Linked DNA regions of Homo sapiens: region 2 is linked to region 1. Evidence: promoter capture Hi-C in 16 types of primary human blood cells and fetal thymus (Javierre and others, 2016). All regions are on one chromosome and are shown on one strand. The core of a region is centred on a gene start or on the middle of the fragment in contact, and the rest is flanking DNA. Distances in the headings are between cores, read along the strand shown. Region 1 overlaps SLC8B1 (solute carrier family 8 member B1). Region 2 holds the start of SDS (serine dehydratase).

Evidence for each region. The method cuts DNA at HindIII sites, captures the fragments that hold promoters and counts their contacts. A CHiCAGO score of 5 or more calls a contact.
Region 2: a contact is called between the fragment with the promoter of SDS here and a fragment that was not itself captured in region 1, in 1 of 17 cell types (M0 macrophages). The highest score is 5.4, in M0 macrophages.

What each region holds. Positions count from the first base shown.
Region 1 is chr12:113,328,182-113,333,999 of GRCh38, forward strand. It overlaps SLC8B1 (solute carrier family 8 member B1), which reads right to left. Exons shown (of 16, transcript NM_001358345.2): 2 at 4,542-4,779. The coding sequence starts at 4,697. Among named protein-coding and RNA genes, the nearest start is that of SLC8B1, 4.0 kb to the right of the region's middle. The HindIII fragment of the contact is 1,455 bases long and covers 3,842-5,296 here.
Region 2 is chr12:113,400,985-113,406,206 of GRCh38, forward strand. It overlaps SDS (serine dehydratase), which reads right to left and starts at 2,903. Exons shown (of 8, transcript NM_006843.3): 1 at 2,784-2,903. RefSeq lists enhancers at 340-841, 842-1,341. The HindIII fragment of the contact is 9,232 bases long and covers 1-3,058 here.

The sequences.
Region 1 (5,818 bases), core at 3,319-5,818:
TCACACGAGGCTAATTTTTAAATTTTTTGTTGAGAAGGGGTCTCGCCTTGTTGGCCAGGCTAGTCTCAAACTCCTGGGCTCAAGTGATCCTCCCGCCTCGGCCTTCCAACGTGCTGGGATTACACAGGTGGGCCACCAAGCCTGGCCAGAAATTTTTCTCTCTTAAACAATACTTGAATTCATCCCTTCCTTCCATCTCCACCAGCACGGAGAACAACTGCAGAGGTTCTCATCTGGCCTCCTACCCCCAATCTTACCAGAGGGGCTCTTTCTAATGTGCTCCCTCCTCCAGCTGCTGAAGAGCTCTCCTTTGCCTGTTTTTGGTCCCTGTGTTCTGCCCTTGTCAGTCTCCAGTAAAGCTCGTCTGGTCAGCTGTCAGGTCCTGGAATGCCCAGACCCTCCTGGCATTGGTCCAGCTTTTGTACATGCTGTTCCTTCTGCCTGGTGCCACGATTATTTTTCCTCTATTTAATCCACATTCACCACCCAATTCTTGGTTCCCAGGACACTTCTTGCAGGAAGCCCTCCCTGACTACTCCCAGCCTAGCTGGCCCTCCCAGTTACTTTTTTTTTTTTTTTTCCTTTTTTGAGATGGAGTCTTACTCCATCGCCCAGGCAGGAGGGCAGTGGTATGATCTCAGCTCACTGCAACCTCCATCTCATGGGTTCAAGAGATTCTCCTACCTCAGCCTCCCGAGTAGCTGGGATTGCAGACGTCCACCACCATGCCCAGGTAATTTTTGTATTTTAGTAGAGATGGGGTTTTGCTATGTTGGCCAGGCTGGTCTCGAAATCCTGGCCTGAAGTGATCCACCTGCCTCGGCCTCCCAAAGTGCTGGGATTACAGGTGTGAGCCACCGCACCCAGGCAGGATCATAGACTTGCTTAATATCTGCCCCTCCCACTAAAGTCTCGCACAGTGCCTGGCAGAGTAGGCCCTCCTAACAGTTGTGCTGCACACCGTGCTGGGCATCATCTCACCCATTCAGTCTTCATCAGAGACCCAGGAGGTTGGCACAATTGTTTCCACTTCACAGATGAGAAAACTGAGGCACAGAGAGGCAAAGTGGCTTGCCCAGGAGCACACAGCCCACCACTGAGAAGTGGCTCCAAACTCAGCTCCGCCTGAAAGTTACTCGCTGAAGCTCCTGAGGAAACTGCCCAACTGGGCAGGGGCAGCCTCCATTTCCTGTCCTCTCACTATCTTCCTGCCCTCCCTCCTCCCTGTCCTCGGGGTCAGCTAGGGAGGATGCAGGGAGTCACCCCATCTCCCTGATGGCAGAGTGAGTCAGCAAGGTGGGTCCCCCAAATCTGGCCTCCAAAATCACATTACTGTGCAGTCTGTCTCGCTCTGCCCTCCCCGAGCTGCACAGCCCTCCCCCAGGTCCCTCAGGACCCCTCCCCAGCTCTCTGCTCAAGAGAGACAGAGTAAGGTGGGATTGCTCTGCGTCTGGGGGAGGGAAGGAGTGACTTCACTTCCTTCCAGTCCTTCCCACCCTCTTTCCTATGTCACTAACTCAGTCCCAGGAAACCCAAAGAGGTGCACACAGAGGTCAGGCTGGACAGGAAAGGGTAACCAACTCAATACCTTGGAATTCTTATAAAAACTTACATCAGATCACATCCTCTTGTGCTCTAAAGCCTCCCATGGCTCCCACCTTCCTCCCACTGACAGCCAAGTCTACAGTGGTCCCCAGGGCCCCTGTTCTCTCCTGCCTGGTCTCCCTTCCTTCTCCCTTGCTCACTGTTCCAGCCACTTTGCAAAATCTGTCATTCTGCTCCTGCCCCAGGGCCTTTGCATCTACTGTTCCCTCACTTCCCCTGGATCTTCATAAGCCATTCAGGTCTCAGTCTAAATGTCATGTCCTCAGAGAGGCCTTCCATGATAGCCTAAGCAAAGCAGCACCCCCCTCCCCCTCACCCTGTGGAATGATTTGTCAACTTGCTTCTCATCCATGACCCCACTAGAGTATAAGCTCCAGGGGGGCAGGGACCAGGCTCTCTGCTTCCTGCTATCCCCTCAGCACATGGCACAGGCCCTGGCACATAGTAGGTGCTCAATAACTATTTGTTGCATTAATGACTACTTGAAAAGGACCTAAGGTAAGGGGCTGGGGGGGCCTTTCCCAGCCTGCAGGCTCCCTGGATGGTGGGGACTTCCAGAAAGGCAGCTGCCCCATCTGTCCTGTGAGGCGGTGGACTAGAGGGGAAGGGGATGGATTTAGCATGAAGCAGCCAAGGGTTCTCATCCTGGCTCTGCCACTTTCCTCCTGGCCACCTTCACCTCCCTGAACCTTGGAGTCTTCATCTATAGCACAGAGATAATCACTCCCACCTCACGGGGTTTGGGGGAGGACTTGTGGGCACAAGGCTGATCTAAGTGCTCAATAACTTGGAGAGATTATCTGGCACAATTATCTGGTATGATCTCCCAGTTTTCCTGCCCCCAAGGAGCACGCTCCAAGAGGGGGTACTCAATTTTATAACCACAGTAACCACAAACCACTTTCCCATCTGTAAAATGGGCTTAATTGCCTGTTGCCTGTTTCACAGGGTGGACTTGAAGGCACTTTGCAGCCTCATAAAGTTGCTGTGGGCATTGAATGCTCTCAGCCCATCAGTTTGAGTTTGGGATTCCTGCTGAAGAAATGGTGAGAACTCCAGTCCCTGGCAGCTACAGGGCACTCCAGGGGGTCATCTTGAGCAGTCCTCTGCTTTTGTTCCTTCACTCCAGATCTGCTGTGACCTCCTCTTCTCCCCTTACAGACATCAGAGCGGAAAGATGCAAGTTCTCTGTAGCCTGTCTCAACAGGCTGTGCCCTCCCTGCCCTGGGAGGAAGGCCTCTTGCCTCTAACTCCAGCGTCGTCATTGGTCCTCCCTCAGTGCTCCCCATTCAAATCACAGCACCAGCACACCCTCAGCTGATCAGGCCAGGAACCTGGAGCCATCCACAACTCCTCTCTTTCTCCCACCACTGGGAGAAAGAGAGAGGGTGGGAGTTCAATACCAGCCTGGCCAACATGGTGAAACCCTGTTTCTACTAAAAATACAAAAAAATTAGCCAGGTGTGGTGGTGTGCACCTGTAATCCCAACTACTCGGGAGGCTGTGCATAAGAATCGCTTGAACCCGGGAGGTGGAGGTTGCAGTGAGCTGAGATCGTGCCATTGCACTCCAGCCTGGGTATAGAGTGAGACTGTTCTCGAAAAAAAAAAAAAAAAAAAAAATTGAGTCAGTGGACTGGGAAAAGCAGACCCACCCTCAATCTGGGTGGGTGCAATCTAATCAGCTACCAGCACAGCCAGAATAAAAGCAGGCAGAAGAATGTGGAAAGACTAGACTGGCTTGGTCTTCTGGCCTGCATCTTTCTCCCATGCTGGATGCTTCCTGCCCTCAAACATCAGACTCCAAGTTCTTCAGCTTTGGGACTCTTGGACCTTCAGCCACAGACTAAAGGCTGCACTGTCAGCTTCCCTGCTTTTGAGGTTTTGGGACTCAGACTGACCTCCTCGCTCTTCAGCTTGCAGATGACCTATTGCGGGACCTCACCTGTGATCATGTGAGTCAATATTCCTTTAAAAACTCCCCTTTACATATACATCTATCCTATTAGTTCTGTCCCACTAGAGAACTCCGACTAACACAGATTTTGGGACCCTCTGCTTAAAACCTTCCATTGGCTCCCCACTATCGCAAAACAATTCTCACCTCCTAGCCGCAGCCTGTAAGGCCTTTTGTAATCTGCCCGCCATTACCTCTCCATCCTCCTCTCTTAGCATTCTTCCCCTCACTTGCTCTGTTCCATCCATTCTAGCCTCCCTGCTGTTACGGGAACACACTAAGCTTGTTCCTGCTCCAGAATCTTTGTACTTGCTGTTCCCTTTGCCCAGAATGCTCTTCCCCGGGGTGTCAATGTAGGTGGTTTCCTCTCTCCATTCGCTGGCTTGCCTCAAATATCACCCCCTCACAGAAGCCATCTGTGACCACCCAATCTGAAATAGTTGGAAAAGCTCACGCCCTCCCCCATACCACTTTAGCTATTGTGTGCGGGGCACTTAGCACATCGCCACCTGAAATGTATATGCTTACTTCTCTTTTTTTTGTTGTTGAGACAGAGTCTTGCTTCGCCGCCCAGGCTGGAGTGCAGTGGTACAATCCTGGCTCACTGCAACATCCACCTCACGGTTTCAAGCAATTCTCCTGCCTCAGGGTTCTGATGATTACAGGCACCTGCCACCATGCCCAGCTAATTTTTGTATTTTTAGTAGATACGGGGTTTTGACACGATGGCCAGGCTGGTCTCCAGCTCCTGGCCTCAAGTGATCCTCCTGCCTTGGCCTCCCAAAGTGTATAAGTTTACTTCTTGATCTGTCTGTTCAGGAGACTGTCAGCTTCTTGAGAGTAGTGAATTTTGTCTCTATTGTTCCCCGGTATATCCCAGGCTGCGGTCAGTGCCTGGCACATAGTAGATGCTCAATAGATATTTATCGATTGGAGGAACACAGCCCCACTCAACCCCAGGTTCCTACCGGGATACTCACGTCTACCACGGGGGTCTGGTTCACACCTGAAGCTGGAAACTGGGGGCTAATGTGAGCTCCTGTAGACGAGCCCCTAGTCCCAGACACTGTCTCCGCCATTAGCAGCACACAAAGCACACTCAGTGCCCAGCGCAGATTCAGCCTTCTGCCGGCCATCTGCCCCCACGGGGCCTGGCCCTTACTCTCCACTTCCCTTTCTGCAGTAGCTCAGTTCCAAACAGCTGGCGGCTCCGGTGGCCTGCAAGGTGGGAGTGAGAAAGGGGGACAACATTACTGAAAACCCATGGACACAGCAAAAGGGGCTGGAAGACTCTAGTTAAGGAACTGCCTTCCTGCCTCCCGGCAGCAAAGTTAAGCTGACGGAGAAACCATGTTCTGCACAGTCTCGCTGGAGGGGCCCAAGGCCCTGCCCATTCAGCGTGCAGATCAGATACGCCCTTCTTCCTGAGAACCCATGAAAACCTACCCAGTCCCACCTGGCCCCCAGCCTGAGGCCAGAATGCCAGGGCTGCAAGGGACTTGGGACTTGAGCCAAGATTCAGAGTCTCAGGCTTCTGGGGCAGGTGGGTGAGATACATGTGGGAAGTGGGCAGTGGGCGGGATTGCAGAAGCCCTCAAAACAAAACAAAACAAACTCTACTTCTAGGGGTGGACTTGGCCTCTGGGCCACCAGTTTGAGACGTAGAGAGGCTTGCCCACCACATTTTACAGAGCCCACTAAGCAATGCTGTTGTTCTGTGTCTTACAAGGAGCCAAGCTTTACATGGATGACCTCATTCTATCCTCACGACATGCCGAGCGGGGGTAGCACTAGCATTCCATTTTACAGATGAACTAACTGAGGCACAGACAGGTGAAGCCAGGCTTGTTTCCCCCCTGCATCACGCCTCCCTCATGCAGTCCTCAGAACAATTCTGGAAATGTCACCCCCCCGCCCCCCACCCCACCCTGCACAGCAGGGAGAGGGGCTCAGAGGAGTGTTTTTTGTTTTTTGTTTGTTTCTTCAGATGGAGTCTCACTCTGTTACCCAAGCTGGAGTGCAGTGGCGCGATCTCAGCTCACTGCAACCTCTGCCTCCCGGGTTCAAGTGATTCTCCTGCCTCAGCCTCCCGAGTAGCTGGGATTACAGGCACACACCACCATGCCCAGCTAATTTTTGTATTTTTAACGGAGACGGGGTTTCGCCATGTTGGCCAGGCTGGTCTGGAACTCCTAGCCTCAAGTGATCTGCCGGCCTTGACCTCTCAAAGTGCTGGGACTACAGGCGTGAGCCACCA
Region 2 (5,222 bases), core at 1,653-4,152, 71 kb after region 1:
CTACTAAAAATACAAGCTACTTGGGAGGCTGAGGCAGGAGAATGGCGTGAACCCGGGAGGCGGAGCTTGTAGTGAGCCGAGATCGCGCCACTGCACTCCAGCCTCGTCTACAGATCGAGACTCTGTCTCAAACAAACAAACAAACAAACAAAAACAACCTGGCAGCTGGCTCTTCTGACATGCAGTTCCAAGTATCTTGGCTTAAATGGACGATCCCAGGACCCAGCAAAATGCCTGACTCATAGTAGATGTTCAATAAATATTTATTTAAAAAAAAACAAAATAACCTAACTTTTGGGAAGCCCAATATTCAGTTAGGAAAAGCTCTTTCATAATTATTAATTTTGTCATAATTATTATAGCAGTGACTAATCACAGCTTTTAAATTTTATTCATTCATTCATTCATTCATTCATTCATTCATTCCAGTAGAGATGGGGTTTTGCTATGTTGGCCAGGCTGGTCTCCAACTCCTGGCCTCAAGCGTTCTGCCCACCTCAGCCTCCCAAACTGCTGGGATTACAGGCATGAGCCACAGCACCTGGCTTGCTGTTGTTTTAAGTCACATTTTGGGGTAGTTTGGTACACAGCAACAGGAAGGGGAATATTAACATAATTTGCCCAAAGTCACGCTGTGAGTGAGGCAGGGAGGCAGGATTTGAACTCGGGCAGCTGGCTCCAGGGCTCAGGCTCTCTCTGCGACCCATGGGTGTGGCTCAGGCTCCTGCTTCTGGATGGGCTCTGGGGGATGAAGCAGCTGGGGTGGCCCGGGGTCTAGCCACAGCCACGTCCACCCACCCAGCCTTCCCATCTCCCCTGCCTTCTGCTGAGAGTCTCAGGGAGGATTTGATTCTCCTCAACTTGGGCCGGGCCAGAAGAGATCAGCTGACGATGGCCAAGGGGCTCTCTGGTTCCCCCTCCCTCCACCATCCCAGAAGGCCAGGCAAGGGTGGCTAGCCAGAGACCCATCTCCAATGCCACCTTGTCCAGCCCCCTGTCCTGGGCACTCCTAGCTTGGACATCCATCCCCCGCTCCCAGAATGAGCCAGACATCCCTTGGTCAGAGGGAGAATGAGGGGTGGGGATTCCAACTGCCCCGCCAGACTTAGCATCCCCTAAATAGGTCACCCCTTGTCTATCTGAATTAACTGACATTCGGGGCCTGGGAGGGGAACTTGAACAGACACCCTCTCTCCGCTGGATCTCTCGAATAAAAATCAGAGACTGGGGCAAACTTCAAAACAGGACATCCCCAAATCGGCATGAACTTTCAGCTCCTGGAGGTTAATCCCCAAACAATGGGATCCCGGTTTTTATTTAGTTATTTTTAGAGAACCTCCCTCTGTCACCCAGGCTGGAGTGCAGCGGCATGATCTCGGCTCACTGCAACCTCCGCCTTCTGGGTTCAAGCGATTTTCCTGCCTCAGCCTCCCAAGTAGCTGGGATCACAGACGTGCACCACCACGCCCGAATAATTTTTGCATTTTTAGTGGAGACAAGGTTTCACCATATTGGGCAGGCTGGTCTCGAACTCCTGACCTCAAGTCATCTGCCTGCCTTGGCCTCCCAAAGTGCTGGGATTACAGGCGTGAGCCACCACACCGACTGACTTGACATTAAAGGCCGGTGTAGGTCACCAAGGCCTGGCCTCAGGGACAATCGGGGTGGGAGTCAGAGGAGCCGGCCACGAAGACCCTTTTCAGGTGGGTTTGGGGCGCCTCTCTCGCCGTTTGTCCCAGGCGGTGCCATGGGATGCCTTCAGGTAAAAGGACAGGGCTCCCTCTGCCGCGGCTTTCCGTGAAGTGAGCATCCATTAACTGCATCCAGCCTGCCCCAAGGATCCCTGCCCCAAGGATCGCAAGACTTCAGAAGAGGTTGTGCCCGGGGAGGAGGAGGGAGGGAGCCCTGAAGCCGCTGTCTGCCCACTCCGGCAGTCGGAAGCCACCTTCCCTTTCACTTGGTTCACAGTAAGTGCTCAGTCGATATGAACTATTATGAAATCTGGGCTGGACACCTTAAGTGCAGGTCATCCTTTCACCGTCACAACCACCTGAGGAGGAAGGCGCTATGCTCATCCCCATTCTACAGATGTGGAAGCTGAGGCACAGAACTGGACACAAACTCAGTGTTTAGGCCCAAATGGCTGTTTTTTAAAAATTTGAGACAAGGTCTTGCTGTGTCACCCAGGCTGGAGTGCAGGGGCGCAATAATTGCTCACTGCAGACTCGACCTCTTGGGCTCCAGCGATCCTCCCAACTCAGCCTTCCCAGTAGCTGGGACTACAGGTGTGCACCACCACACTATACTAATTAAATTCTTTTTTTAGGTCAGGAGTTCGAGACCAGCCTGGCCAACATGGTGAAACCCCATCTCTACTAAAAATACAAAAATTAGCCGGGCGTGGTGGCACACGCCTGTAGTCCAAGCTACTCGGGAGGCTGAGGCAGGAGAATCGCTTGAACCCAGGAGGTGGAGGTTGCAGTGAGCCCAGATTGTGCCATTGCACTTCAGCCTGGGTGACAGAGTGAGACCTCTGTCTTAAAAAAAAAAAATTTTTTTTGTAGAGATTGGGGGGGGTCTCACTCTGTTGCCCAGCTCAGTCTTGAACTTGTGGCCTCAAGCAACCCTCCCACCTCAGCCTTCCAAAGTGTTGGGATTACAGGCATCAGCCACCATGCCCAGCCTTGACAGACTCTTTCTATGTCTCCCTCTTCCCCTGGGAAACCACAGGCTAGCCCGGGACACTCCAGTCCTGAGGTGGGACTGAGGATGGGGCCACTTACCCGGCAAAGGTGATGGGTCTGAGCAGGAGTCAGAGCCAAGCCAGCGAGGGAGGGATCAACTGAGTAGATAGCCCACGAAGAGAGGGGGCTGAGGACGGGTGGACAGTCTTCTGAATGGTCCCAGGGGCTACTTGGTCCTGGGCTTTATTCCTCTGGCACCTCTGGGCAGCCAATGGGGCCCTGGGGCTGGCTACACCCCCCCCTCCCTCCTGCCAGGACCCACCCCCCTGGCTTGAGGCCACTGAGGCTGTCAGAAGGGAGGTGGAATCTGGCCAAGCTTTCTTCTTTGGCAGCTTCCTCCTGCCTTTCCCACAACCCACTCCTCCTCCCTCTTTCCACTTCCCCTTTCTGTCCTCAGTTTCGTGAAAGGAAAATAAAAAATTGGGACCCCCAACTCACTATGCCAAAAGAAAAAGAATTAAGCTAAAAGCTGAGTCATGTAAGAAACTGCCTTTCCTTTAGTTCCTAAGCAGATAGCTTCAGATGAAAGGTTAAATATTGGCTCCGCATTTTGGGAGGCCGAGGCGGGTGGATCACCTGAGGTCAGGAATTCGAAACCAGCCTGGCCAACATGGTGAAATCCCGTCTCTACTAAAAATACAAAAATCAGCCGGGTGTGGTGGCACGTGCCTGTAATCCTAGCTACTCAGGAGGCTGAGGCACAAGAATTGCTTGAACCTGGGAGGCAGAGGTTACAGTGAGACTAGATCTCGCCACTGCACTCCAGCCTTCACAACAGAAAGAAAAAAAAAAGTTAAATATCTCCACAGGTCGCTACTCTATGTTCACCTTATCTTATGTAAAGTGCCGATTTATTGAGATCAAGACAAATACATAATTGGCTACTTCCCTATCTGCCCCTCTTCTCTTACAAACTGTGGATTTGGTAATGTGGCCATAGCCTCCTTCTTTCCCCTCCAGCTTGCTTTTCTCCTTTAAATACTGACACCTAAAGTCATCTCTGGAGAAAAGCACAGACCTGTCTCCCAGGTGCATTCTTAACCCTGGCGAAATAAATTTCTAAATGGATTGAGTCCTGTCTCAATCTTTTTGATTCTTTTTGATTTACAGATTGGAGACTCATGAAAGGGACCCTGGGTGGAGGTGGCCCTGACCTTTGACAAGTCTCCTACTGGTGCTTGGTGGGTCTTGCTCTGTCACCCTGGCTGGAGTGCAATGGCATGATCTTGGCTCACTGCAACCTCCATCTCCTGGGTTCAAGCGATGCTCCTGTTTCAACCCCCCAAATAACTGGGAGTATAGGCATGTGCCACCACACTCAGCTAATTTTTTGTATTTTTAGTAGAGATGGGGTTTCACCATGTTAGCCAGGCTGGTCTTGAAGTCCTGACCTCAAGTGATCCACCCGCCTCAGTCTCCTAGAGTGCTGGGATTACAGGCGTGAGCCACCATGCCGGCCTTGAGCGATCTTGATTGCCCTCCAAAATAGGACAGTTTGCTGAGGCCTGGGAGCTCCCCACCTCCAGAGAACTCCTGATCTCCCACAATTGGTTGATATCTAAGCTTGATTTCCCTGAACAGCTCCTTTTCTGCGTTTTACTCACTTCCAACAAGGAAGGTGAGTTTTCTGGCTTCCATGATGATGGCAAGCAGGCAGCTCCTTTCTGGAGTTTCGCTTGTGTCCGGCAGGGAAGGCAAGTTTGAGATTTCCCCGCTTCTAGGATGGTAGAGAGCGGTCTTCAGCCTGGGCCCCATGACTAGAAGTTAGGGTTAACAACCAGCTGGTCTTAATTTCTCCCTACTTTTAGAGCGTGCAGTAATCGTATAAATTGCTTGATTGTTTGTTTCCCTTGCTTAACTGTTTTTGTTTCTGTTGTTGTTTTGTTGCTTCTGTCTTTTCCCCATTGGACTGGACCAACTCCATTTGACTTGGTCAAATCTGAAGGAAAGTTTCATATTATGGCGAACAAGGTCTCATGAATTGGCTAAATACCCACAGCTGGAAAAAAAAAAAAAGGAAAAAGAAAAAACAGCCAGCAAAAGAAAAAAGAGAGAGAGAGACAAGGATTTTGATTACCTGAGGGGCATTATTTACATAACAAGGCCATCTTTTGCTAGCCAAGCCAAACTGAAAGAGGCTACATGGCTGTCACCTCACGCTAGTTCAGTAGCTAAGATTCTGTTCCTTTTTCACCACCGTGGCCTGGGCTTGGTTCCTAAATCAAGTCCTTTCTGGTTTGATGTTTGTGTTACTTTTGAAATATTAGCAGTTTGTCCCAGCTAAAATATGGTGATGAGATTTAAAAGGATTTTTTAAAGAGCTCAATGGTTAAAAGCTTAATTAAAGGCGAATATCTAAGATGTGTGTGTGTGTGTGTGTGTGTGTGTATTTATTTATTTATTTATTCATAGGGCCTTAATGCATTTTTTTCTCTCTTAGGATCTGTTTTTTTTTTGAGATGGAGTCTTACTCTGTCG